Regions from separate parts of the Homo sapiens genome. Here all the other regions are linked to region 4. The links are contacts of gene promoters, found by promoter capture Hi-C in human tissues and cell types (Jung and others, 2019). All regions are on one chromosome and are shown on one strand. Each heading gives the region's core, a stretch centred on a gene start or on the middle of the fragment in contact. The rest is flanking DNA. Distances are from core to core; before and after follow the strand shown.

Region 1 (3,255 bases), core at 1-2,500, 380 kb after region 4:
TGCTGCTGTCCAGGTACTCCACAGAGTAGGTCTTGCCAAAGCCAGGGACGCGGATCTGGACACCAGGGGCGTTGGACACGAGCCCAGAGCTCCGGTTGTAGACAACCCTGCGGGGCGGGGGTGCCACTCAGCAGCCAGTAGCCAAGGGGCAGCGTGTTGGGGCTAGGGTGGAGCACATGGCTGTACCTGGTGTTATCGATCCAGCAGTCTACCCCAAGGGGTAGGAACATGTTGAGATCCAGCCAGATGGTGAAGAAGTCCTCTGTCTTGCGGTAGCACATCCAGTTCACCACATCTGGTTTGTCCAGCTTGGCTTCTAGCTGATTCCCCAGGCAGCCGGGCACTGTGAGCAGCAGCCCTCACTCTGGACTCTGGATTCCCCCCGTGACCCTTACCCCCGTCACCCCAGATGCTGCAGTGACCAGACCCACCCCCCACCTCCCATACCCTCAACCCCCAGGTACAAAGCACACTTACCCTCCCCTGCTTACACCCCCTCTCCCTGCTGTCCCCCCAGTAGCCAAAGCCCAGGCTTCCCTGAGGAAGGGAAGGCGCTGAGGTGCTGAGGCCAAGGCCGCTGACCCCTGCCTCTGCAGAGCAAACACCCAGTCTGGCGCTCCTTTATTGCCAAAGTCCAAGGTGGGAACAGATAGGTCTGGGGGCATGGGGGCTGGGCCTAATAGGGGCCGGGCATGGATGGGCCTCTCCTGCTCACCGATCCTGGGCTGGGCATCTTGTCCTTGGTGGGTGGGGGCCAAGGAAGGAGTGGTGGGGCTTGGCCCAGAGTCTGGTGTGGCTGTGACTGACCACAGCTTGTGATGCCCCAGCCAAGACCTCAGGCACACCCCGTCCCCCACTCCGCCCCCCCTGGGTTAGACAACTGAGAGTCACAGTGTGGTGGGAGAAGGGACGTCATTCCTCTAAGGGACAAGCTTTTGGCCCCTCCCCACACCAGGGCAGGTACTTATGTCGGGGCTTATGCAGGGCAGAAGGGCTTTGGCCAGGTCAGCTGCCAGGGGCTGGGGCCCAGGCTCCCCAGGGTCTGGCGTGGTGCATCAGGGGCCTGGTGGGGGCTTACCGAGGATGACGGGCCGTGTGTGGTTACTGAGCTCAGCCTTGGGCGTGGTGTGCGGGGGGAAGAGCACATTGAGGAGCCAGAAGGGGGCGGCAGGAGGGAGCAGCAGCCCCAGCAGCAGCGTCACCCACTGCCATGGGGAGCCGGGCGGCCCCATTCCAGCCCTGGTGCCTACTGCCAGAGAAAGCGGCACTGGGCTGTCCTTATCTGGTGTGGGAGTGGGAGGGGCCCTAGGGCCAGTGGGAGGGACGGCCTGGCCAGTGGGGGTTGTGGCCAGAGATTGCCGGAAAGGGGCACAGCCTCAGGGAGCCGGCTCTGGGCCTGGGTTCAGTTCCGCCTTCTTCTCTTGGCGCCAGGGGAAACAGAGCCGGGGCAGCAGGAGGCCCAGAACTACACAATGTTTTATTGAAAAAGTCAGGCCTCAGCTCAGCTGTCTCCATTCGGCTCAGCTTGGTGGGGGGCCCTGCCCATAGTAGACTGAGCCAGATCTTCCTGCAGGCAGCTGGGCTGGACTCCCTCCCTGGCTACCCTTCCCTTCGTCTCTGATGGTGACATCCAAACAATAAATATGCAATAAATAGCGCTCCTGGGCTGGGCCGGGCCGGCTGCCTTCAAACCCCACTCGGCCCCTACCAGTCTTCTCTGGCCAGGACAGGCCTACTGGGGTGCTAGATAGTAAAGTCCCCAAACATCCCAGGGTCCCACAAGACCTGGGATCCATCTCCATTTTGAGGCCCAGGCCTGGTTTCCAAGGAGACCTAGCAAAGCTGGGTCCAGGACAGGGCCAGGCAAGCAGGGCTGGCAGGTGGGTGCTGGGAAGAGGCTGTTACCCCAGACCACAGCTTGTTATGTCCTGGCCAAGACCTCGACTCCAGGCCACAAGATGACACTGGGCTCAGGAGTAGATGGTGATGACTTCACGGCCACCACCGCGCACCAACAGCACCCGCTCAAGGCCCTCGGTCAGCACCTCGAGGAACTCCATGTCTGCAGGGCCTCAAGTCAAGGAGGCAACAACAGAATCAACGGGCAACCCGGGCCACCTGGGCCATGCCCACCCAGGGGTGCCCAGGAGAGAAGCCGCTGGCTTGACCTCCCATGCTATCCACCTCCCAACTGCCTGCCTCTCCACAAAGGGATACAGTTCTCGTCGCCCTCACTGTTCCTGGGTGGGCCAGGCATGTTTAGGAGAACCAGGCGGGCGTCGTGGGAGCGCGTGACAATGACTTCATTGAGCTTCACAGCAGTGTGCATGCGCCGCACATTGGATTGGTCCCTACACGTAGTGTAGCCAGTCACAGGTCGCCATGAGCCATCCTGCAAGGAGGGTCCCCACCCCTGGCCCATCTAACACTACTTGTCTGCCCCACCCCACCTCCACCCCTAGATTCCAGTGCCGCTGGGGCTGTTTTTGCTGCACTCACGGCTTAATGTGCACCAGCTCCCGGAAATTGTCAGGGGCATGGCTGGGGTCCCAGGTCTCAGTCATGTACTTGTCCCTGGTCCACGTCATCTGGATCTTGTCAGCCCCCACTGCAGACTCATCTTCCTCGTCCGAGTACAGGCTCTCCAGCCGCAGGGCCGAGTGCCGATCCTTGACCAGCTGGGCCTGAGGACAATTGCAGGAGATAGCCTTGGTCCCATAGGAAAAGGGGGATGGGGCCTGTCTGGCCCAATGTGACCACCTTGCCTCCGGGAAATGAGCACTAGCTTGGGTAGGGCTGCGGTGAGTCATTCTGATTCCTCCGCACCCACCGATGCGGTCTCCAAAGGCCTGACCCTGCCACCCGCCCTGGCGTGAACCACAAAGGGCACTGACTTCTCGCTCCCGCTCAGTCTTGGTCAGTCTCATCTGCCGCAGCATCTGCGACCGCTGCTCCATCATCAGCGTCCGCTCGTAGGTGTATGCAGAGATGTCACTGTTATGCTGGGGACAGGGTTGGCCGTGAGGACCCAGCTGCACGGGACATGGTATCCACGGGGCCAGGGCAGGGCAGAGGGCTCACCATCTCCACCACCTCCACCTCGGCCTCAAGGCGCAGATGGTACAGAAAGACAGCCAGGTCCTTCTTCATCTGGATGCTGTTGTCATCCATCTGGGCCACTGTGAAGATGCGCATCCGGCACTTCCTCCAGACCTGAGGCAAGGGACCAGGTGGGCGGTTTGGTCACAGCTGCTC
Region 2 (3,185 bases), core at 686-3,185, 360 kb after region 4:
GCAAAGCGAGCAAATAGCATCCTTCTCGATCTTGAGTTGTGTCCTGTCTCTCTCCTCTCCTTCCCCTCCACTCTGGCTCTGGGCAGGGACAGGTGGGGGCACACGATTTCATTTTGTTATCCATTTCAAGTTTCAGAACACAGCTTTACTAACCTTTAAGTTGTCACACCTTTTCTCATTTTAATCTTTATTCTCTGCTTTTTTTTTTTTAATTCTCTACTTGTTTTTAAAACTGCATTATCTTCCCTCTATTTCTCTCCTCAGGCTCTCTCCCCCCACACCCTTCCCTTTTCTGTTGCTTGCCCCTCACCCGCCCTCTGCCGAGTCCCAGGGTGGTAGATTCTGTCTGGTCTGGAAGCCCAGGCACCAGGATGATGGGTTTTTGACCACAGGAGGGGATGCTGGCTCTGCTGCCACACAGTGTCTAATTCTGCTGATGCTCTTCGTCGTGGGCAGCATGACAGGGTGCCGTTCTTGTTGTCATGCTGCTTTCCTGAGTAAACTCAAAGCTCTGTTTCCAGAATTTCCTCTGTGCCCTTTTCTCTGCTCTCATTCAGGCCCACGTAAGTACAGAAAGGAGGCCTTTGAAGGTGGGAATAGTGGGTCTGAAAATACATCTTGAAATAGAGCTGAGGGAAGAACTGAGTCATGGTAGCAAAGCCCAGGCTTCTTCCTCCCTTCCCATCCCTTCTCTAGAAGCACTGTGGTGGGGCCACCTCCTCTGTCAGCCAGCCTGCCCCAGAATCATCATTGGTTAGATAAGGAACCCAGGGCTCAAGAGGTCAGCTTAAATGCTAAACTCTGCGCTTCACATGTGGCCACGTGAAGGAAAAGGTGGAGAAAAAGGAATCCAGGAGTTTATAAACTGGAAGGGACTTAGAGTTCATGACATTCAGCCCCTTCCTCGTGTTAAAAGTGAAGGCGGTGTGATTTCTCTAAGGCCGACAGAGAAGGTAGAACTAGAACTCAGGTTGCTGGGCTTGCAATCTAACCCTTTAACGTATCCCAGATGCCACTCAGAAGACACACCAAGGGGCCTTTCTCTCCCAGCCTCACTTGCCAGTAGGCAGCCCTGCCTGCCAGAGGAAGTCTAGGGCCGCCCTGTAAGCTGTGTTTGCTGCCAGAAAGAAGCAGCTTCCTCCTCTGTCTGCAGCCTCTGCTAGAGAGCTGGCGCTGTTCTTTGTTTCATTAGCCCTTAGGCTCCAGGTGAGACCGCTGGCAGTGGCTTGGGTAGTGTTCATGCCAGGCCCTTGTGCCAGACATTAGAGCTAGAGCAAACGAAAAGGGTTGGTGCGGGGGGTCCTCAGGCGGGAGCGGAAAGCCCTTCCTGCTGTGCTGCCTCTCCCTCTCCAGGGGGAGTAGGACTCCACTGCCTAGGAGTGGCTTTGGCCCAGCATGGGTAGGGGGATGAGGAAGGCTAGTTGGTAAGGAGGTGCTCACGGAAGAGGTCGCTTCCCATACCCATTATTGGCATCTTTGCTGTTCCAACATCAGGAGCAGGTACCCTAACTGCAAGGGGAAAAGGACTCTTTTGAGGGCCATGGACTCAGGAGGAAGGCAGCCAGCTTGATGGTCAGAATCAGAGCAGAGGTGATGCCCTCCTCCTACAGCCCCTGCTTGTCTTCCTCTTGAAGCAGGACCCAGCCCTCACTCACGCAGCAGTGTCTCGAAGTGCTGGGATTAGAGGTGTGAGCCACTGACTTGCCCAGAGACTGTGGAAAGGAGAGAGTGGAGGCTGTCACCCTGGGTATGGAAGCTGTTCTCTGATCCCAGAGCAAGGGAAGACCTGAGAGTCTGGGCGTAGAGCCAGCTGACATCTTAGTGTTTCCCTCTGTGCCTCGTGCTCCACGTCGGCCCAGAAGCAGGTGGAAGCCTCAGAGACTGCCCAGGTGGGTCTTGGCACCTGTGCCATCTGTCAGCCAACTGAGGCCATGTGTGTCCCTGGTATGGCTCAAATAAGTATACTGAGGCACGAGTTCAGTTCTTCACCTAGAACAAACAGAGTTGTGGAGACTGAAGAGCATGACTATTCATCATTTTCCCTTTTCTCCTGCTTAGAATGCTTCCCAGCCAGTCAGCCCTTGGCTGACACACATACTTACGTGGCTCCAGGGGAAGCAGGTGGGTTGGGCTGCTGGCGTTGAGTGCTTTCTTAGGAGGTGCTGAGTTGATGTGAGGCCTGAAGCCTGGCTGTGGGCGAGTGTGGAAAGCCTTACTTTTCTAAGCCCTGTGGGAGGCCTCAGCAGGGCTTCCAGAGGCTGCTATTCTGAAGGTCACCCTAAGCCCCTGCCTCACTGTCAGCTGGATGAGGACCACCTTCTTGTGTTCAGCCTGACTTTCCTCTGTGTACAAGGGTTAGGCTGGGGACCAGTTCAGGACGACTTGAGTCACTTTGGCTTGGGGGACCCACCTGGCCTAGCTGCTCACAGCTCTTCAAAGATGGGAAGAGCTGGGACCTGCCAGAGAGGCCAGGCCAGCCCTCAGACAAATGAGTCCATCTGCATTCTGCGCACAGCCACATGCCCACAGTAATTGGTGAGGCGAGAATCTTGGGGAGCAGCGGGGAGAGGGATCAATCTGGCTCGCTTTGGCACTAACAGGCCGGCCGCTCCATGAGCAGCAGGGGTTGATGCCTGCTGGTGTGAGCCTGTGCCACTCTGAAGATGGAGACACTTAAGACCATAGGGCTGGTCTGGGGAGAGGCCCCTCCAAGACTGCACTGGTGACTGGTTTGGAGTTTCAGGTCCACGGTTTCGCTGGGTGTGGATGTGAAGTGGTGAAACCTCCAGTCCATCCATGTTCAGGCTCCTGGCCTCTGTAGGGGAGTTGCCCCTCTTTTGTCTTGGCTGGACCAAGGGGCAGGGGCAGAATCCATTTCCCAGCCCTGTTGGGACACCCTGGGCTGTCAGCCCTGTCTTGGGGCTGTTCCAGCAACAGGCCAGACTGAGCTGCAGCCTGCTTCCTAGTGAGTCCTCCTCTTCCTGGAGACTGTAGAAGGCCAGCAGGCAGCAGAGGTGTCCCCTGACCCACTCTGTTCAGCTGTGTGTGTGCTGTCTCCATCAAGCTTCTTTCTGTCTCTCCGGTGGGTGATGGGGGCTACAGTGAATGTCTGTGGTCTGGACTGGCTGCCCCCAGTAGTGGTTCCTTGTGTTCAGGAGGCAACCATGGAGCTTTCTTTTTTAAAA
Region 3 (3,429 bases), core at 659-3,158, 420 kb after region 4:
GTCCTGGGACTGGCATGAGACGGAGGCTGACCAGAACTGAGGGTAGGTCAAGGGGTCCAGAATGAGGCCAGGGCGGTCTTCAACCCCCTAGGCCTGCCACTCCTGCCTCAGACCCCATAACACCCATTTGGGTCAGTGGCCCCAAGTGAGGCACTACATGACTCCATGGTACCTTGATGACTTTTTTTAAAATTATTTTTTATTTTTATTTTAAAATTTGAGACAGGGTCTTGCTCTGTCACCCAGGCTAGAGTGCAGTGGTGTGATCATGGCTCACTGCAGCCTTGACCCCCCAGGCTCAAACAATCCTCCTGCCTCAGCCTCCCAAAGTGTTGGCATTACAGATGTGAACTACCGAGCCTGGTTCCTTGATGACTGTTTGCTGCCAGCAGTCAAATGATGGACTCACGACACATCATAAATTACTGTTACGGCCAGGCCAAGTGGCTCATGCCTGTAATCTCCACACTGTGGGAGGCCGAGGAGGGTGGATCATGTGAGGTCAGGAGTTCGAGACCAGCCTGGCCAACATGGTAAAACCCTGTCTCTACTAAAACTACAAAAATTAGCAGGGCGTGGTGGCGAGTGCCTGTAATCCCAGCTACTCAGGAGGCTGAGGCAGGGAGAATTGCTTGAACCCGGGAGGCGGAGGTTGCAGTGAACCGAGATCGTGCCACTGTACTCCAGCCTGGGCGACAGAAGGAGACACTGTCTCAAAAATGCAAACAAACAAACAAGCAAAAAACTGCTGTTAGTCCATGTGCTATGTGAATGCCCCAAGGCCAATCCACTATGTCCTTTGTGGTTACGGCAGACCCCACACTCACCAGGGATTTTCTGGTCATTTTCTGCGTGTTTCCACAGAACCTGGGCATACATGCAGCTAGCCTGTCTTGGCCTCCAAGGCCCCACTCTCCTTAGAAACCACATGATGGCACACTGCATGCCCCATTGTATTTAGTCACCCAGAGGCTGGCTGACCCAGGTTTCTGTGACCCCAACATCCCCCAGCAGCCATGCTGTGGCACCCTGTGTGTCCCTGTGGTACCTGGGCACCCACGAGGCCGTCTCTAAGCCTGTCCAGGCTGGTCTGACCATGGCTGAAATTTCGCAGGTTAACATCCTGAAGCACATTCTTGTAACGCTGTCTCAGGACCTGGGGCAGGTCATTGTGGCTGGGGGTGTGAAGGTCAGATGGAAACACCGCCTCCAGATCAGTCAGGATATATCAGGTGCTTGGGTCTACCCTCCTCCACCCCACCAGGCACCTCCTCACACAGACCATATAGAGACCTCCTGAGGTTGGGTTGGAGGGAGGGGGTTAGATTCCACCAGGAATGGAGTAATGCGGGGAAGGGCACCCATGGGTGATGGAGGAGAGAGGGCATCCAGGGGTGGTGTGAGGGAGCCTCCTTGATAGCCTCCTTGATAGCATGCTCAGAACCTCCTCTCCTGCCCAAGGGTGTGCTCACCCCGCGTTGCCCAAACGCTGCACCTACATACCCGTCCACGAGTGGGAAACTCCGCATCAGGGCCTGCGCGCGACCCCGAAGGTCCAGGGTTTTGGGGGTGCCTGGCGTAGTGAGGCCTGGGGTAGTGAGGGCGCTGGGGACACCCGGCGTGGTGAAGAGGCTGGGGGAGCCCAGCGTGGAGAGGGCTCTGGGGGCGCCCGGCGTGGTCTCCGCGCGGGTTACGGGCTGCCGCAGCAGCAGCAGCAGTAGCAGGAGCAGCAGACGCCGCAGATACCGCCGGCTGAGCGCGCGGGAACCCTCGCGGCCCGTGGGCTGCATGTTGCGCGGGGGTCGGCCGCGGGAGCCTGGGAGGAGCAGGCGATGGGCAGAGGCCGACAATGGGGTCCGGATCATGACGACCCAGCCTCCCGAAGAGGGGGTTGAAGTCACGCGACTCTGAGACCGACGCGCCACGCAAGGGGGCGCCACGGCTTTTCCGCCCCCAAGCAGGAGAGCGCCCCCATGGGCCGGAACCGCCGCTGCAGCGTCGAGGACTCCTCGCCCTTCCACCCCCAGCGCTGGCTCCGTAGACCCCCACACGAGTGGGGGAGGAGGCCAGGCAGGGAACTAGTAGGGGCCCAGGGATCTTCCTGATCTCACCTCCTACCCAGGCCCACGTGGCGGTTAGCTGCCGGCTTGTGCCCAGCTCCTAGGCAGGTCAAATATTCTAAGCTGCGACTCAGAAGAGTTAATTCGGTCTGTCTGGTTTGATGGACAGAAAGATTCCCTATAGGTATTTCATTTCATTTCATTTCATTTCATTTCATTTCATTATTTCATTTCATCTCATTTCAGTTTTGAGACGGAGTTTGGGTCTTGTTGCCCAGGCTGGAGTGCAATGATGCAGTCTCGGCTCACTGCAACCTCCACGTCCCGGGTTCAAGCCATTTTCCTGCCTCAGCCTCCCGAGTAGCTGGGATTACAGGTGCCCGCCACCATGCCCAGCTAATTTTTGTATTTTCAGTAGAGATGGGGTTTTACCATGTTGGCCAGGCTGGCCTTGAACTCCTGACCTCAAGTGATCCTCCTGCCTCGACCTCCCAAAGTGCTGGGATTACAGGCGTGAGCCACCGTGCCCGGCCCCGAAAATGAAATTTAAGAACAATTTTTGTTGGGGATCATTATTTTAGCTTTTTTTCCTTCTCCAAGAGACAGAGTATCTGTCACCCAGGCTGGAGTTGCAGTGGGGTGATCATAGCTTGCTGCAGCCTTGATCATAGCTTGCTGCAGCCTTGAACTTCTGAGCTCAAGCGATCCTCCTTCCTCCACCTCCCAAGTAGCTGAGACTATAGGTGCAGTGCCACCATGCATGGCTAATTGTTATTTTTTATTTTATTAAAACAAATTTTTTTTTGAGACAGGGTCTCACTGGAGTGCAGTGGCACCATCTCAGCTCACTGTAGCCTCGACCTCCCAGGTAAAAGTGATCCTCCTGCTTCAGCTCCCTAAGTAGCTGGGAGGGACTACAGGCATGCACCACCATGCCCAGCTAATTTTTGTATATTTGCATTTTTTTTTAGAGACAGGGTTTTACCATGTTGCCCAGACTGGTCTTGAACTCCTGAGCTCAAGCGATCTGCCCACCTAGGTCTCCCAAAGTGCTAGGATTACAGGCATGAGCCACCACGTCCGGCCTTATTTCTTTTTTAGAGACGTGGTTTTTTTTTTGAGACGGAGTCTCACTGTGCCACCCAGGCTGGAGTGCAGTGGCTCCATCTCTGCTCACTGCAAGCTCCGCCTCCCGGGTTCATGCCAGTCTCCTGCCTCAGCCTCCCGAGTAGCTGGGACTACAGGCGCCCACCACCATGCCCAGCTAATTTTTTGTATTTTTAGTAGAGACCGGGTTTCACCGTGTTAGCCAGGATGGTCTTGATCTCCTGACCTCGTGATCCGCCCACCTTGGCCTCCCAAAGTTCCG
Region 4 (3,249 bases), core at 291-2,790:
CTGGTGACTGTTTAACCCATTCCGGTCAGGTCCACCTCCCTGATATACTCACGTGAATCAAGCCAAGGCCATCAGTGACATTCTCCAGTGACTTGCAAGGTGACCCAATCCAATAGCCACATCTCTGGCCCAAGTTTATCACACCGCTCAGCTGATGCCTCCTACCTGAAACCTTCTCTGCCCAGGGATTCCACAACTCAGCGCTAGCTTTCATGACTTCCTAGATGCTGCCTTTCAGACTCCTTCTCCATTACCCTCCCAATATTGGAGTGCCCCAGGATTTGGCCATGGAATTTCTCTTCACTCTTTCCTCCAAGCCAAGCCAGGGGTCGTAAACTGACAGCTCATCTGTGTGGTTTAATCAGCTCATGAAGTTTAAAAACATCTGATTCAGTTGCTAACATCTAAAAACTCTGGAGATTTGACATCTTAAAAATACAGATTTTTTTATTCCTTTAGGGGAAAAAAAAAGAGTATGTTATTGGGCCAGCATTCTCACAACGGAACGGTCAGATGGATGGAGAAGAAGCTGCTCCCTAGATATTGGGTCCATTTGATATCTAAGGGAAGAGTCATATTCCCTGTAAGTACCAAAAGGCTCTCATCCCAGAGCCACCAGCACCTTGCAGTCAGTTCTTGGTCAACTTGACTGCAGGTTGGGAAGGGTCCGCAGGCGCCTCCTGGGGAGGGGTGGGACTGAAGGTCTCCGCCCACAGAGAACAGCTCTCCCGCAAAGACAAGAAATGCACGTTTCCACAGAATTACACAGCGCTAAATACAGAAACTCCTTTCAGTAAAAAGCGATTGCTATGAACGTGTTAAAGCATCAAGTCTGGTTTTCCGCCACCTCTCCGGGCTGAGGTGGCCTGGGGACACCAAGAGGAGGCCCTCCCACTCTCCTCTCGCACCCGCTTTTAGGTGGCCCTCTTCTAGGGCGGAGAGATCACCAAAAGCCGCTGAGCAAGGACAGCCCTTCCAGTCGTCGCTCGCGGGCACGGAGCTGGGAGCGCGCGGGAACCGACCGGGCCTTACTCTGGGGCGGGCAGCTGTAAGACATTCGGAGGGCGGGTCGGGCCTGGCTGGGGCGGAGACTGGGCGGGGCCGGGCCCGGGAGCCTCCTCAGCCCCACTGGCTTGCCCCGCGCGCGCTTCCTCCAGCCACCCCCACTTCCCCAACCCTGTACGGGTTCAGGGGGCCGGAGACAGCAGCTAGGGAATAAGGTCAAGCGGACTGGATCCGGCACCGCCCAGGGGCGGCGGCCTCCGCCCAGGAAGCCCCACCCAGCGGGAGCCAGGACGCCGCGGCGCCGGCAGAGCCCACGAGCGACCCGGCGAGGGCGCGTGCGGCGTGACGACGCGACTCGCGGCGCGTCCCGTGACGCCATCGCGCCCGCTTTTGAAAGTTGGCGCCCGGGGCCGCCTCCCATGCTGCCCTGCGCCAACCCCTCCCCTCACCTTTCCTCCCCCGCCCTCTACTCGCCGCCCGGCCGGTCCCCCCACCCGTCCCTTCCCTTATCAGCACCCGCGGCCCCGGCAGCGCCGACGCAGGCGCACTGCACCGCGCCGCCGCCATTTTGTGTCTGAGCCTGTGGAGCGATTAAACCGTGCGCGGAGCTGCTTCTTTGGCGGCAGCGGCGGCGGCGGTGGCCGGTGCGGACGCGCGGAGCTCGCCGGAGACGCCGGGTGGCCGGAGCCGTGGAGCGGCGGCGGAGCGGGCGCCGCGGGGGGTGTGGCGCGGAGGTAAGGGGGCCCGGGGTGGAGGAGGTTTCGCGGGCCGCCTCTAGGTGTCACGATGGGGCCGCTCCGGTCGGCGCTGGCTGCAGCCCGGCGCCAGCGCCGCCGCCGGGGGGTGTTTGTCTCCCTCTACCGTCCCTGCTGCGGCGCGGCCGCCGCCATTGCCCGTCGCCGCCGTGGCCCGGCCGCCCCCCCCACCCCCACGCCCGCCCGCCCGCCCGCCCGCTAGGCCTCCCTCCTGGCAGCGCGCTAGGCCTCGGGCGGCGGCAGAGGCAGAGGCCCGCGCGCCCGGCGACTCCATTTTCCTTCCTTTGTCTGCCCTCGAGGCCGGTTCTTGGCCGGCCGATCGCCCGGCCGCGGCCCGCCCTCTGTCCTGTGTCCTCCGCCCCTCCCGCGGCGGGTGGCCCCAGCTGAGACACTATCTCCGCGTCCCGGCTTCGGCGCCCGCCTAGCTTAAGGGTTCGGACCGACTGCCGCCGCGCGCTAAGCCAGGTCCCGGTGCCGTATGGGTGTCGGGCCCTGGCCGTCGCGTCTCGGGCTGCCCCTCCTCCAGCCAGCCCCGTCCCCGGAACCTACCCTGCCGGCCTGCGTGCCTTCCCAGCTGCTTGGCTGCTCGGCGGTCGCTCCCAGTCCGCGCGTCGCCGCCGCTGGTCTCCGTCTCCGCCGAGTGGCGCAGGCGGCGCTGCAGCGGCTGCGAGCAGAGGGACCCCAGAGCTGCCGAGAGCTCCCTCTGCAAGGCTGGCTGAGCTGCTCGCACCTCTACGCTGCCTGAGCGGGCGGGGGGACGCGCGCTCGCCGCCCCCGCTGCGCCCCCAAACTCGCGCCCGGGTTCCTGGCCGGACCCGACCGGTGCGGCCCCCCCACGGTGGGCGGAAAAGATGCGAGTTCCGCACCAAGTAGTTTTTATCCAGCCGGGTTCGGACTCCCCAGCCGAGTGATAGCAGCCTGACTTTGTGCGCTCAGAGATCTCAAAGGGACTGAAACTTAAATTTCATTCTGATCTCAAGTGACGTGACAAATTTCTGAATTTGGGAGTATGGGCTAAGTCCCTTGAGTTTCCCTCCCGCTTTAAAATGTCCTCACACTAACTTAGTACCTGATGCTCTAGGGCTAGGTGAAGGCGGTTCTGCCCCAGGATTGTGCAACTCGATCTAGAGCGCCAGTAGGGCAGAATGAGTTTATTCTTGACTCGACTGGTAATTTGCCCATGCGATGAAATATGAGGGTTGATGTTGTAATTGAATCCTGGGTCACTTGCTGCAGATGGTTTATAAATATCTACGCCTAATGTAACTACTGTTTAGTAGGAGACTTCCTGTAGCCCCGAGTTCAGCGTTAAGTAAACATTCGCATACGTAGTCTTCATACTTTGAGTTTCGATCAACTAGGAAAGTTAAAAACCAAGTCCTCATAGGTGGGAAAGGAAGTTAAACAAGGCATATATTTAAATTTATTCGGTCCTTAAGTTTTCTTTCTTCACTAAAAAGCATCCCGTTGAATTGCGGGAGTCTTTTGC
Region 5 (3,286 bases), core at 625-3,124, 300 kb after region 4:
GTCTGGAACTCTCGACCTCAGGTGATCCACCCGCCTCAGCCTCCCAAAGTCCTGGGATTAGAGGCGTGAGCCACCGCGCCTGACCTGATTTTTGTATTTTTAGTAGAGATGGGGTTTCACCATGTTGTGCCCAGGCTGGTCTGGAACTCCTGACCTCAGGTGATCCACCCGCCTTGGCCTCCCAAAATGTTGAAATTACAGGCGTGAGCCACTGCGCCAGGCCTTTTTTTTTTTTTTTTTTTTTTTTTTTGGAGATGGAGCCTCACTCTGTCACCCAGGCTAGAATGCCGTGGGTCGTTCTTAGCTCACTGCAGCCTCCACCTCTCGGGTTCAAGCAATTCTGCCTCAGCCTCCCGGGTAGCTGGGATTACAGGTGTACACCACCATGGCCAGATATTTTATTATTTTTTTTTTTCTTTTTTTTTGAGATGGAGTCTGGCTGTGTTGCCCAGGCTGGAGTGCAGTGGTGCAATCTCCACTCACTGCAAGCTCCGCCTCCTGGGTTCACGCCATTCTGCTGCCTCAGCCTCCCAAGTAGCTGGGACTACAGGTGTCTGCCACCACGCCCAGCTAATTTTTTGTATTTTTAGTAGAGACGGGGTTTCACCATGTTAGCCAGGATGGTCTTGATCTCCTGACCCTGTGATCCGCCCACCTTGGCCTCCCAAAGTGCTGGAATTACAGGTGTGAGCCATCATGCCCAGCCTTTTTGTTTGTTCTGAGGCAGAGTCTTGCCCTGTCACTCAGGGTGGATTGCAGTGGTAAGTTCACAGCTCACTGTAGCCTGGACCTCCCAGGCTCAGGTGATCTTCCCACCTCAGCCTCCTGAGTAGCTGAGACTAAAGGAGTGAACCACCATGCCCGGCTAATTTTTAAAATTTTTTGTAGATATGGGGCTTTGTTGCTGAGGCTGGTCTGGAACTCCTGGACTCAAGTGATCCTCCTGCGTGGGCCTCCCAAAGTGCTGAGATTACAGATGTGAGCTACTATGCCCAGCCTTGGGCCTGAGGGGTTTAAGCCATGTTGGCTATCAGTTTCCCTGTTGGAGGAGTCCTTTCCAGGCTGTGCCTCAAGGCTGTGTTTTTGGCCTCCGTGATAGCATGTGTGGAGGATAGCCACGACTGGTACCAATTTTGGGGCCCTCACTGTAGGCCATGCAAATCTGCTGGCATTCCCTGTGGGCTTCAGCAGACACATGAGAATCTTTCTGTGTGCCAGTCTGGAAGGAGTGATAGCGTCTTCTCGATCACTCTCCTGCCTCAGGCTAGGATCTCTGTCTGCTCTGTCTGCTTTGCTGAGATGGTAGAACAGGGTTGTGACCTCGAAGGTTTGAGAAAGCTGACATCATCCTCCATGAAAACTCCTGTTGTTTGGACTCTAGGTTTGATGTGGAACTCTTCTGCCTGAGGCCTTTGTTTGGAGGTGGAAGCCCTGGTTCAGGACTGCCTTGCCCCTTTCTGAGAGAGCCAGGCTCAGAGGAGTGCTCTCACTGATGTAGTCTGTTCTTGTCTCCAGGCCCACGTTGTCACTAGAAGTCCTGACTCTGGAGAGGCCTCCAAATCTGGTCAGTCCAATTCCACCACCTATCAGCTGCTGACCTAGAGCGAGTTGGAGTTGGCTAACCTCGCTGAATCTCCTTTTGGTCATCTCTAACAAGGGGGTTGACTCACAGGGTGTGGTTACAAACAAGTGCACATAAGCTCTTTGCACATTTCTGTGCCTCATATGCATTAGTGAAAATGAAGTGTTCACAGCCAGACAGTTATTTTGAGTTTTGTTCTTGGAAACACTTAAAATTGGAAGATAAAAATGGAGTTTTTCTGTTGTCTAACGGGATCTCCTGGGTCAGAGGTTTTAACCTGGGATCTATGGCTGAACAGTTGAAAATTATTCACAAGGCTGGGGCATCTCTACCTCTGTGCAAATGTGTTGGGAGAGGGCCACAGTTGCTGAGACATTCTTGGAGGGTCTTTGCACTCACAGAGACCTAAGGGTCAGTGAAGGCTGGTGTTCAGTGGGTGAGAGGTCATCAGAGTCTTTTCTGCTCCTCAAGGAGCCTGGCCTCAGCCTGCGGACTGTTGGGGTGAAGCAGGAGATGGTGTGGTCAGCGGCCCTCTCACAAGAGCTGTAGGAGAAGCTGTCATGATGGTCAGTCCCCAGTCTAATGTGAGGCTGCCTCTGAGCCCGGGCTTTTTTGTTTCCAGCCTGTTACTTGCACAGTAAATGTGTTAGAAACAAGATCAGAGCTTGCTGGCTATTCTGGGGAACATCTTCCAGCCTGGCCTGGACCCCTCCCTCATGTTGCATGGGGATAGGATGGGGGCTCTGCACTCTTGCTTCTTTTTTTGGACTCAAGAGTGTTGCCTCCCGTGGGAAGGGTGGGGATCGCAGGAGGGGACTTTCCTGTGTACAAAACATGGTGAGCAGGCTCTCGGTAGGTTCTGTTGTGTCTGTATGTAGCTGGATCGAGGTAGGAGGGAATGGCTTAGGGAGATGGGGATGAGGGTGGATGGCCACCTGTGGAGCTTAGGGAGTTTGGCCTTTAAGCCAAAAGCAAGGGTGTTTGTAGGGGAGGAGCATGGTCAGCTTTGTGGTTTAGAGCTCAGGGATGCAGAGTTAGCAGAAAAAAGAGACGGGCCTTGACCAGAGGACCCAGTGTCAGCACTGATGTACCAGGTGAGCTTAGGGCAAGACCCAGCGACATCACTGGATGACAGTGGATTCTGACTATGTGGCTGTTGTGATCACTACTTGGAAATAAACACAAGACAGTGAAGCAGGCCTCAATCCCACATAGTTTTGAAGGTTCCTTGTCATTTTCTGGGAGCCCCTGATGTGTCCTATTCCTCAGAGAGCTTACTCTTCCCCACTCTTCTCTGCCCTACCAGGCCAAAGGGTCTTTCTCTTCCTTTATCCCTCCACCCCATTTCCTTCCACCACCACTTCAGTCAAGGAGTTTTTGTATCAGAAAGTTATCACAGGCCAGTTATGGTGGTGCACGCCTGTAATCCCAGCACTTTGGGAGGCCAAGCTGGGTGGATCACTTGAGCTCAGGAGTTTGAGACCAGCCTGAGCAATATGGTGAAGCCTGGTCTCTACAGAAAACACAAAAAGCAGCCAGACGTGGTGGTGCTTGCCTGGAGTCTCAGCTCCTTGGGAGGTTGAAGTGGGAGGATTGCTTGAGTCCTGGAGGTCAAGGCTACAGGGAGATGAGATGGCATCACTGTACCCTGACCTGGGGGACAGAGCGAGACCCTTTTCATGCCCCGGGACATTTGCTGGTGCT
Region 6 (3,026 bases), core at 139-2,638, 490 kb after region 4:
TCAGGCCTAGTGGTCATCAGATATTTGATGACCTGAATACTGCATGGAGAGAATGGCCACAGAAACACCTAGAGCATTTGTTAATCTGATGGTGGGTATGCTGCGGGAAGTCCCATGGATACTATGAGGATTCTTTGGCCATTGTCCCTAGGTACTCCGATGAGTGAGTAGGAGGTCATTGTGCCCACTTGGCTGGGGTTGTGACTTGCTGGGGCTCATAGGGAGTCAGTATGGGGGTTAGTACCAGGAGTAAGCACCTCTTCTTTTCTTTTCTGGACCCCCAGAATCCATGGGCATGAACTTCTGGGCAGTGTGACAGGTGTCTGCTGAACAAAGCAGAACAGTCTTGTCTCCAACTAAGAATTAGAGAATCTCAGTCCTCCAGCACATAGGAGGTTTTCTTCCATTTATGATGTGATTTTGAAGAACCCCCCTTTTTCTTTCTTTCCTTAGTCTGTTTGAGTATCTCCAGAGTTGGGGACCTCGCCCTTTTCATTTCCACATAGTGTGACCCATGTGGGATAGGGGTTTTAGACTTTTCTTTCCTGTGTTCATCTCAGATCTTCCTCCCTTTGCTTCTATTCTCTGGTTCCAGTTTTGTTTTTGGATGTTTCTTGGGAGCCCTTCACTGCCTGCCCTTTGCTGAGGGATAGGTGGGATATTCTTTGATGGGGTGGGCTTCTGCTGAGACCAGTAGGTGAGGAAATTTTCCAAGTGAATACATCCTGAATGATTATTGTCTTTCTGGCTAAGTGGTTCATTCATTCTAGGCCCCAACCATCTCCAAGTTTCCTGGGAAGGACAGCTAATTGAGAGTAGCTCACTCTGGCTCCTGCTTGCCATGCTTGGGTGGGGAGAATAGCACTACATGTCCCAAAAGCCGTGGTTTGTTCTTGGTAGTAGGGCGACTGGCCAAGCGATCCTCATTAGGTGTGTGATGAAAATCCTTCATGCCCAGAGCCTACATGTTCAGGAATGACAAGCGTCCTCTGATTCCTCTGCAGGAGCTGATCGACCTCAAGATGATTCAGTGCAAGAGAGTTGTTAATGGTGAGTACAGATCTGGCTCCAGAATTATGCATATGCCCTGCTGGGCTCAAGCAGCACTACCACTGCCCTTGCCTGGGGTGACAGTGTCTTGCCTGGCTTCATTGAGTAATTCTATAGATCACATGCTCCCTTGAGAGCAGTCACTGATCTCCAGAGGCCATGACAAAAAGCCTGATGTGAAACAGGCTGAGAGTGCCTTTCACTCACAGGCTTGCTGGCATAGAAATCACCATGCATCATAGCATAGGAGGGACTCTAGGAGCCTTGGAGTCAGGATGGCTTTAGCATTGGCCCTGGCTTGGCCACTTGCTAGATGTGTGACCTTGGGCAGGCCATATGACCTCTGTCTGCCTTAGTTCCTTTATCTGTAAAATGAAATCATAGTCTTTGCTTTACTTCAATCATAGGGTTGGAGTGAGGACCAAATAAGATAAGGTACATGTAAGTACTGTGGACGCCCTATGCTCTGTGCAAATGTGATTGTGATGAATTGTAGTTTTGCTGATACTTTATTGATGAGGCTGATTCTGCTTTGATTAGAGTTGTGGTATATTCCTTGAGTTTTCTGATACATACGTATATGCTTGTGAAATCTTTTTTTTTTTGAGACGGAATCTCCCTCTGTTGCCTAGGCTTGAGTGCAACGGCGCGGTCTTGGTTCACTGCAACCTCTGCCTCCCAGGTTCAAGCAGTTCTCCTGCCTCAGCCTCCCGAGTAGCTGGGACTACAGGTGCCCGCCACCACACCCGGCTAATTTTTGTATTTTTAGTAGAGAAGGGGTTTCACCATGGCGGCCAGTCTGGTCTTGAACTCTTGACCTCGTGATCCGCCTGCCTTGGCCTCCCAAAGTGCTGGAATTACAGGTGTGAGCCACCATGCCTGGCCGAACTATTTTAAATGTGTATATTTTTTTCTGTGTGATAAAAAATTCAATATTATAGATCTGTGTAACCTAGAAAATGAAAATCCTCCATAATCCTACACCTAAAGAGGTAATCAGAGAGAGGAATAATGTATGTTTTTCTATACATATAGTAAATAATGTGTGTGTACAAAATATGACGTGTTTATATATATCCCTCTTCTAGGTTGAAGATAAGGAAAAAAAATGTATCTATATCTATATCTGTATCTATATCTATATCTATATTTATCTATCTCCCCACCCCATTTGATCATACAACACGTGTTGTTTTGCCATTTACTTATCTACTAGGTCATTTGCCCATGTCAGTACCTAGGGGCAACTATGTCAGAATTGATTTTACCAGAGCCTTAACAGGGGTTCCCAGTATTTTGCTGTTATAAACAGAGTTGCATTATAAACACACAAATATTTTGTGGTTCTTCTCTCATACTTCTTACTGCCAGTCATGAGCTGTCTCTGTCAGTGATCACTTTGATTACCTCTCTCAACATGTCATTGCCTTTATCCCACCCTAAAAACCTTCTCATCTGTTTAGTGCTGGATGATAATAAAACCATCCATGTATGGAAATACTTTAAGTGCATCAAAGATCTCATTTATTTCTCAAGACAGCCTTTGAGGTAGGCATATTCTCCCATCTGCCACGTTCAGTCTTTTTCATGTATAGTGATCTTTGAAAGCTAGTAATGGTAGCACCTATTGTGGAGCTTCTTTAGGAAGCTGACAGATAAAATACAGTTGCTTCTCATTATGCACCGTTGTTGTTTCTATAAAGTTGCTTTAAACATCAAATGAGCGGATACTGAACCATTGACCCTGGGGTAAACAAAGGGTTAGGTTTGTGCAAGCCTCTGGTCATATTTTCATCAACTTGTCAGTCCATAACTTTGTTTTATGTGTGTTTCTTTGTTTTTGTTTGGTTTCTTTTTTGTGACCAGGTCTCACTCTGTTGCTCAGGCTGGAGTGTACTGGTGTGACCATAGCTCGCTGCAGCCTCAAACTCCTGGGCTCAAATGATCATCCTGCCTCAGCCTTCCAAGTAGCTGGG
Region 7 (3,405 bases), core at 397-2,896, 370 kb before region 4:
CAGGTGGCCAGAGTCACATGACTGGGTGTCTGTCCTGACTCAAGCATCCCACACGTGGGAATCCCAGGATGAGCTGCCTCATAGGCCATGGGAAGCCCGGGCTACTGTCTGGGAGGTCCCTGGTGTGCTGCTCTATGCAGTTCCCCATCTAGTGCCCCAGCCCCTTGATTAGGGATGGGTGTTTGTGGACTGACTATTGGAGGCTGAGGCCCAGGGTCCCTGCATGCTCACCTGCCCGCAGCCGAGGCAGCAGGTGAGACAGGGCCTGCAGTTGCTTGTGCTGGGCAACCCGCTCCCGTAGGGGCTCTAGAGTCTGTAAGGCCTGGGACATGCCCTGGAGCAACCCACGGGCCTGGCTCAGGGCCTCCCGGGTTCCCTGCACCACCTCAATGGCCTGGGCCAGCTGCCACACACCAGTCTGCACGCCTTCCAGGTATGACTGCATCACTGACTGTGGAAAGATGGAGCCATGAGGCTGGGCCAGCCCTGCAGCACAGTCCCAGCACCCGCACCCCCTGCCCCATGCCCACCTTGAGGCGCGATTCCAGGGAGCAGGTACGCTGCACCTCGCGGCTGCGGTACTGGCCTAGCCTGGCCAGCTGCTCCGGCCGGTAGAAGATGCCTGAGGCCCACTTGAGCGCTGCACCCCGGGCCAGCTGCTCTGCCCGCTCCTGCTCTGGCCACTCAGGTCCTGGGAAGGAAGAGCCTGGGCAGCCGTGTAGTCAGGGAGGAGGGCCCAACGACCCCAGTCCCAGCTTTCTTATTTATTTATTTATTTATTTATTTGTTTGTTTATTTGTTTATTGAGATGGAGTCTCGCTCTGTTGCCCAGGCTGGAGTGCAGTGGTGCAATCTCGGGTCCCTGTAACCTCCGCCTCCCGGGTTCAAGCGATTCTCCTGCCTCAGTCTCCCGAGGAGCTGGGATTACAGGCGCGTGCCATCACGCCCAGCTAGTTTTTGTATTTTTAGTAGAGACGGGGTTTCACTATGTTGGCCAGGTTGGTTTGGAGCTCCTGACCTCAGGTCATCTGCCCATCTTGACCTCCCAAAGTGTTGGGATTACAGGCGTGAGCCACTGCGCCCAGCCAGTCCCATCTTTGTTGCCATCATTCCTCCCCTAGTCCACCCAAAAGGTTCATACCAGGGGACAACGCCGGCTGCATCTCATCCTTGGCTGCTGAGTCCATTGTGGGCCTGGAGGAGCCAGAGCTGAGGTGGGCCCGGGGCAAGCAGGCAGAGTAGATGCCCCTGTGAGCTGCTGCCTCTGTCTAAGCCCTTCTGAGAGGAGGAAGGAGGTTCTTCCCGGCCCCCTCGGGAAGTGAGAGGGAGCGGGTGTGATGCGGAGGGCACCTGGGAGGCTTTGCCTGCTAGGTTTCCCAGTCGTGCCCCTGCAGATGTCAAGCGAGACAGAGTGGGCACAGGCCTCCACTGGACCCTGGTCCTGCTCTGAGCTGCACAGGACAGTTTGGTACAGAACTTACCAGATTTGATCAGGCGTCCAGTTCTCCCTCCAAAAATGACCTTGGCCTTGAGAACAGCCCTCTCCCCAATGCAGCTGGGCACGCCTGCCACTTGCTCACAGGGCCTGGGCAACTCCAGCTGACTCCAGCGTGCAGCTGAATTCCTCTCCCCAAGGAAGTCTCTCTCCCACTCCCCACCCAGAAGCCCCTTCTTCCCACCGAGGCTCCTCCCTCCCCAAGGCCATCAACAGAAAGGAAGGAAGCTGAGTCTCTGGCATTTTATTCCCAACAGGAAAGAGTGTCTGCACAGAGGGTGGGGACAGCTGGGCGACACTTCCCTGAGGGGCGGGGGGGTGGGGTGTACTTGTACTCAACCAGTCTTGACCAGCCTACCCAGAACCTCTTAGTGCTCAGGAGAGGAGATAGGGATTTGCTAGACTTGGCCTCAACCTGGGGTGGTGGGCAGAGTGTGCAGATATGGATGCAGACGACATCAACAGCACAGGATGAAAACTGTGTTGGCCAGCCTCTGAGGAGGATGTGTACCTCTGCGGAGGAGTGAGAGGTGGCAGGCTCTTGTGAAGAGGGGTGTGGTGGGGGGTGGTAGGAGAGGGTCATGAAAGCTGTGTTTATCTTTTTTGTTTTAGACAGGGTCTTGATCTGTCACCAAGGCTGGAGTACAGTGGCACCACCATAGCTCACTGCAGCCTTCTGGGCTCAAGCGATCTGCCTGCCTCAGCCTCCCAAAGTGTTGGGAGATTACAGGCGTGAGTCACCGCAACTGGGCAGCTGTGTTTATCTTGAGAGTTATAGGGAGCCAGGGAAGGGACTATAAGGTGGTAATTATTTAGTGGATGTTCAGTCCACCACCCAAATCCACCCTTCAGGACAGAAGTGCTCATTCTCCAGCTGCCAGGAGTGTAGGCTACTGAGATCACACCACTGAGTCTCTCAGTCAATATTGGGGTGCAAAAGCATGGTACCATCGTGTGAACATGAACCCTTCAGAAGTGCTACCCCAATTTCAGAGATCCTAGTGGGATAGGCTGAGGCCTATAATATAATTGCATCTGCTCAATTCTGCTTGTCTTAATCCCTTAAAGGTGTGGATCCTGACCAGGTGCGGTGGCTCACACCGGTCATCCCAGCATTCTGGGAGGCTGAGGTGGGAGGATCTCTTGAGCCCACGAGTTCAAGACTAGCCTGGGCAATATAGTGAGACCCACATCTCTAAAAAACTAAAAATAAATGAGCCGGGCATGGTGGTGCATGCCTGTGGTCCCAGCTACTTGGGAGGCTGAGGTGGGAGAATCGCTTGGGCCCAGGAAGCTGAGACGGCATTGATCTTGCCACTGCACTCCGGCCTGGGCAACAGAGTGAGACCCTGTCTCAAAAAAAAAAAGTGTGGATCCCCAACAAACTTGCTGCAAAACCCTATCTCGAGTCCCATTTCCCAGAGGACCTGATCTAAAAGAAACAATAATAAATAGTAACAATGTTAAAAGTTACAAAATGACCGTATCACACATTCCTGCATGCCAGGAATGACTGAGTGCTTTACTGATATTTACACATAGGTAAACACGTTTGCATTGGCTGAAGTGTTCATAACCCCATAGTCTCTGAGCACTGTACTGTGAGGACAAGACGAGCGAAAGATGAGGCTAGGACCATGGGTGGAACAAGGTGGACAAGGTAGATATAGTTAGTGCTTGCTGTTTGGCAGGAAGTGAGGGATAGGAATAGATGGGGTGACCCCAAGACAGTAGGGCAGCCTTTAGGAACAGGTTTGATGTGGCAGTAAAATGAGTTTGAAATATATAAAAGAATAAATAAAGAGAAAAAAATGGAAAAGGAACAGGTTTGAGGGAGCAGATTGGATTAGTCAGGTAGTGTGGTCTCCTCTCCCAAGATGGGGACTAGGCAGAGTTAGTGATGTTGGGGC

Evidence for each region. The method cuts DNA at HindIII sites, captures the fragments that hold promoters and counts their contacts. A contact is called where the count stands out against the background at its distance.
Region 1: the fragment with the promoter of LCAT here is called in contact with the fragment with the promoter of CTCF in region 4 in 1 of the 25 tissues and cell types used here (IMR-90 fibroblasts).
Region 2: a fragment that was not itself captured here is called in contact with the fragment with the promoter of CTCF in region 4 in 1 of the 25 tissues and cell types used here (spleen).
Region 3: a contact is called between the fragment with the promoter of DPEP3 here and the fragment with the promoter of CTCF in region 4, in 1 of the 25 tissues and cell types used here (adrenal gland).
Region 5: a fragment that was not itself captured here is called in contact with the fragment with the promoter of CTCF in region 4 in 1 of the 25 tissues and cell types used here (mesenchymal stem cells).
Region 6: a fragment that was not itself captured here is called in contact with the fragment with the promoter of CTCF in region 4 in 1 of the 25 tissues and cell types used here (bladder).
Region 7: a contact is called between the fragment with the promoter of EXOC3L1 here and the fragment with the promoter of CTCF in region 4, in 1 of the 25 tissues and cell types used here (spleen).

Annotation. Positions count from the first base shown.
Region 1 is chr16:67,942,870-67,946,124 of GRCh38, forward strand. LCAT (lecithin-cholesterol acyltransferase) reads right to left here and starts at 1,251. Exons shown (of 6, transcript NM_000229.2): 1 at 1,079-1,251; 2 at 187-343; 3 at 1-107. The coding sequence starts at 1,232. It overlaps SLC12A4 (solute carrier family 12 member 4), which reads right to left. Exons shown (of 24, transcript NM_005072.5): 20 at 3,082-3,213; 21 at 2,895-3,002; 22 at 2,500-2,684; 23 at 2,218-2,351; 24 at 605-2,062. The coding sequence ends at 1,971. RefSeq lists an enhancer at 1-382. The HindIII fragment of the contact is 35,269 bases long and covers 1-3,255 here.
Region 2 is chr16:67,921,776-67,924,960 of GRCh38, forward strand. The region is part of intron 2 of PSKH1 (protein serine kinase H1); the gene reads left to right. Among named protein-coding and RNA genes, the nearest start is that of CTRL, 8.5 kb to the right of the region's middle. The HindIII fragment of the contact is 5,571 bases long and covers 1-3,185 here.
Region 3 is chr16:67,978,591-67,982,019 of GRCh38, forward strand. DPEP3 (dipeptidase 3) reads right to left here and starts at 1,909. Exons shown (of 10, transcript NM_001370198.1): 1 at 1,504-1,909; 2 at 1,049-1,175; 3 at 1-36. The coding sequence starts at 1,790. RefSeq lists an enhancer at 1,233-1,733. The HindIII fragment of the contact is 8,829 bases long and covers 1-3,429 here.
Region 4 is chr16:67,560,986-67,564,234 of GRCh38, forward strand. It overlaps CTCF (CCCTC-binding factor), which reads left to right and starts at 1,541. Exons shown (of 12, transcript NM_006565.4): 1 at 1,541-1,739. CTCF-DT (CTCF divergent transcript) reads right to left here and starts at 1,324. Exons shown (of 1, transcript NR_158165.1): 1 at 426-1,324. LOC124903703 (a long non-coding RNA gene) reads right to left here and starts at 2,465. Exons shown (of 2, transcript XR_007065094.1): 1 at 2,310-2,465. RefSeq lists enhancers at 633-682, 703-752, 1,897-2,759 and silencers at 983-1,992, 2,513-2,612. The HindIII fragment of the contact is 9,573 bases long and covers 1-3,249 here.
Region 5 is chr16:67,859,573-67,862,858 of GRCh38, forward strand. All of the region lies in intron 1 of NUTF2 (nuclear transport factor 2), which reads left to right. Among named protein-coding and RNA genes, the nearest start is that of EDC4, 12 kb to the right of the region's middle. The HindIII fragment of the contact is 3,954 bases long and covers 1-3,286 here.
Region 6 is chr16:68,048,501-68,051,526 of GRCh38, forward strand. DUS2 (dihydrouridine synthase 2) reads left to right here. Exons shown (of 17, transcript NM_017803.5): 4 at 1,005-1,050. Among named protein-coding and RNA genes, the nearest start is that of DUS2, 27 kb to the left of the region's middle. The HindIII fragment of the contact is 5,487 bases long and covers 1-3,026 here.
Region 7 is chr16:67,188,490-67,191,894 of GRCh38, forward strand. It overlaps EXOC3L1 (exocyst complex component 3 like 1), which reads right to left and starts at 1,647. Exons shown (of 14, transcript NM_178516.4): 1 at 1,482-1,647; 2 at 1,142-1,194; 3 at 531-691; 4 at 232-451. The coding sequence starts at 1,187. RefSeq lists an enhancer at 3,389-3,405. The HindIII fragment of the contact is 11,498 bases long and covers 600-3,405 here.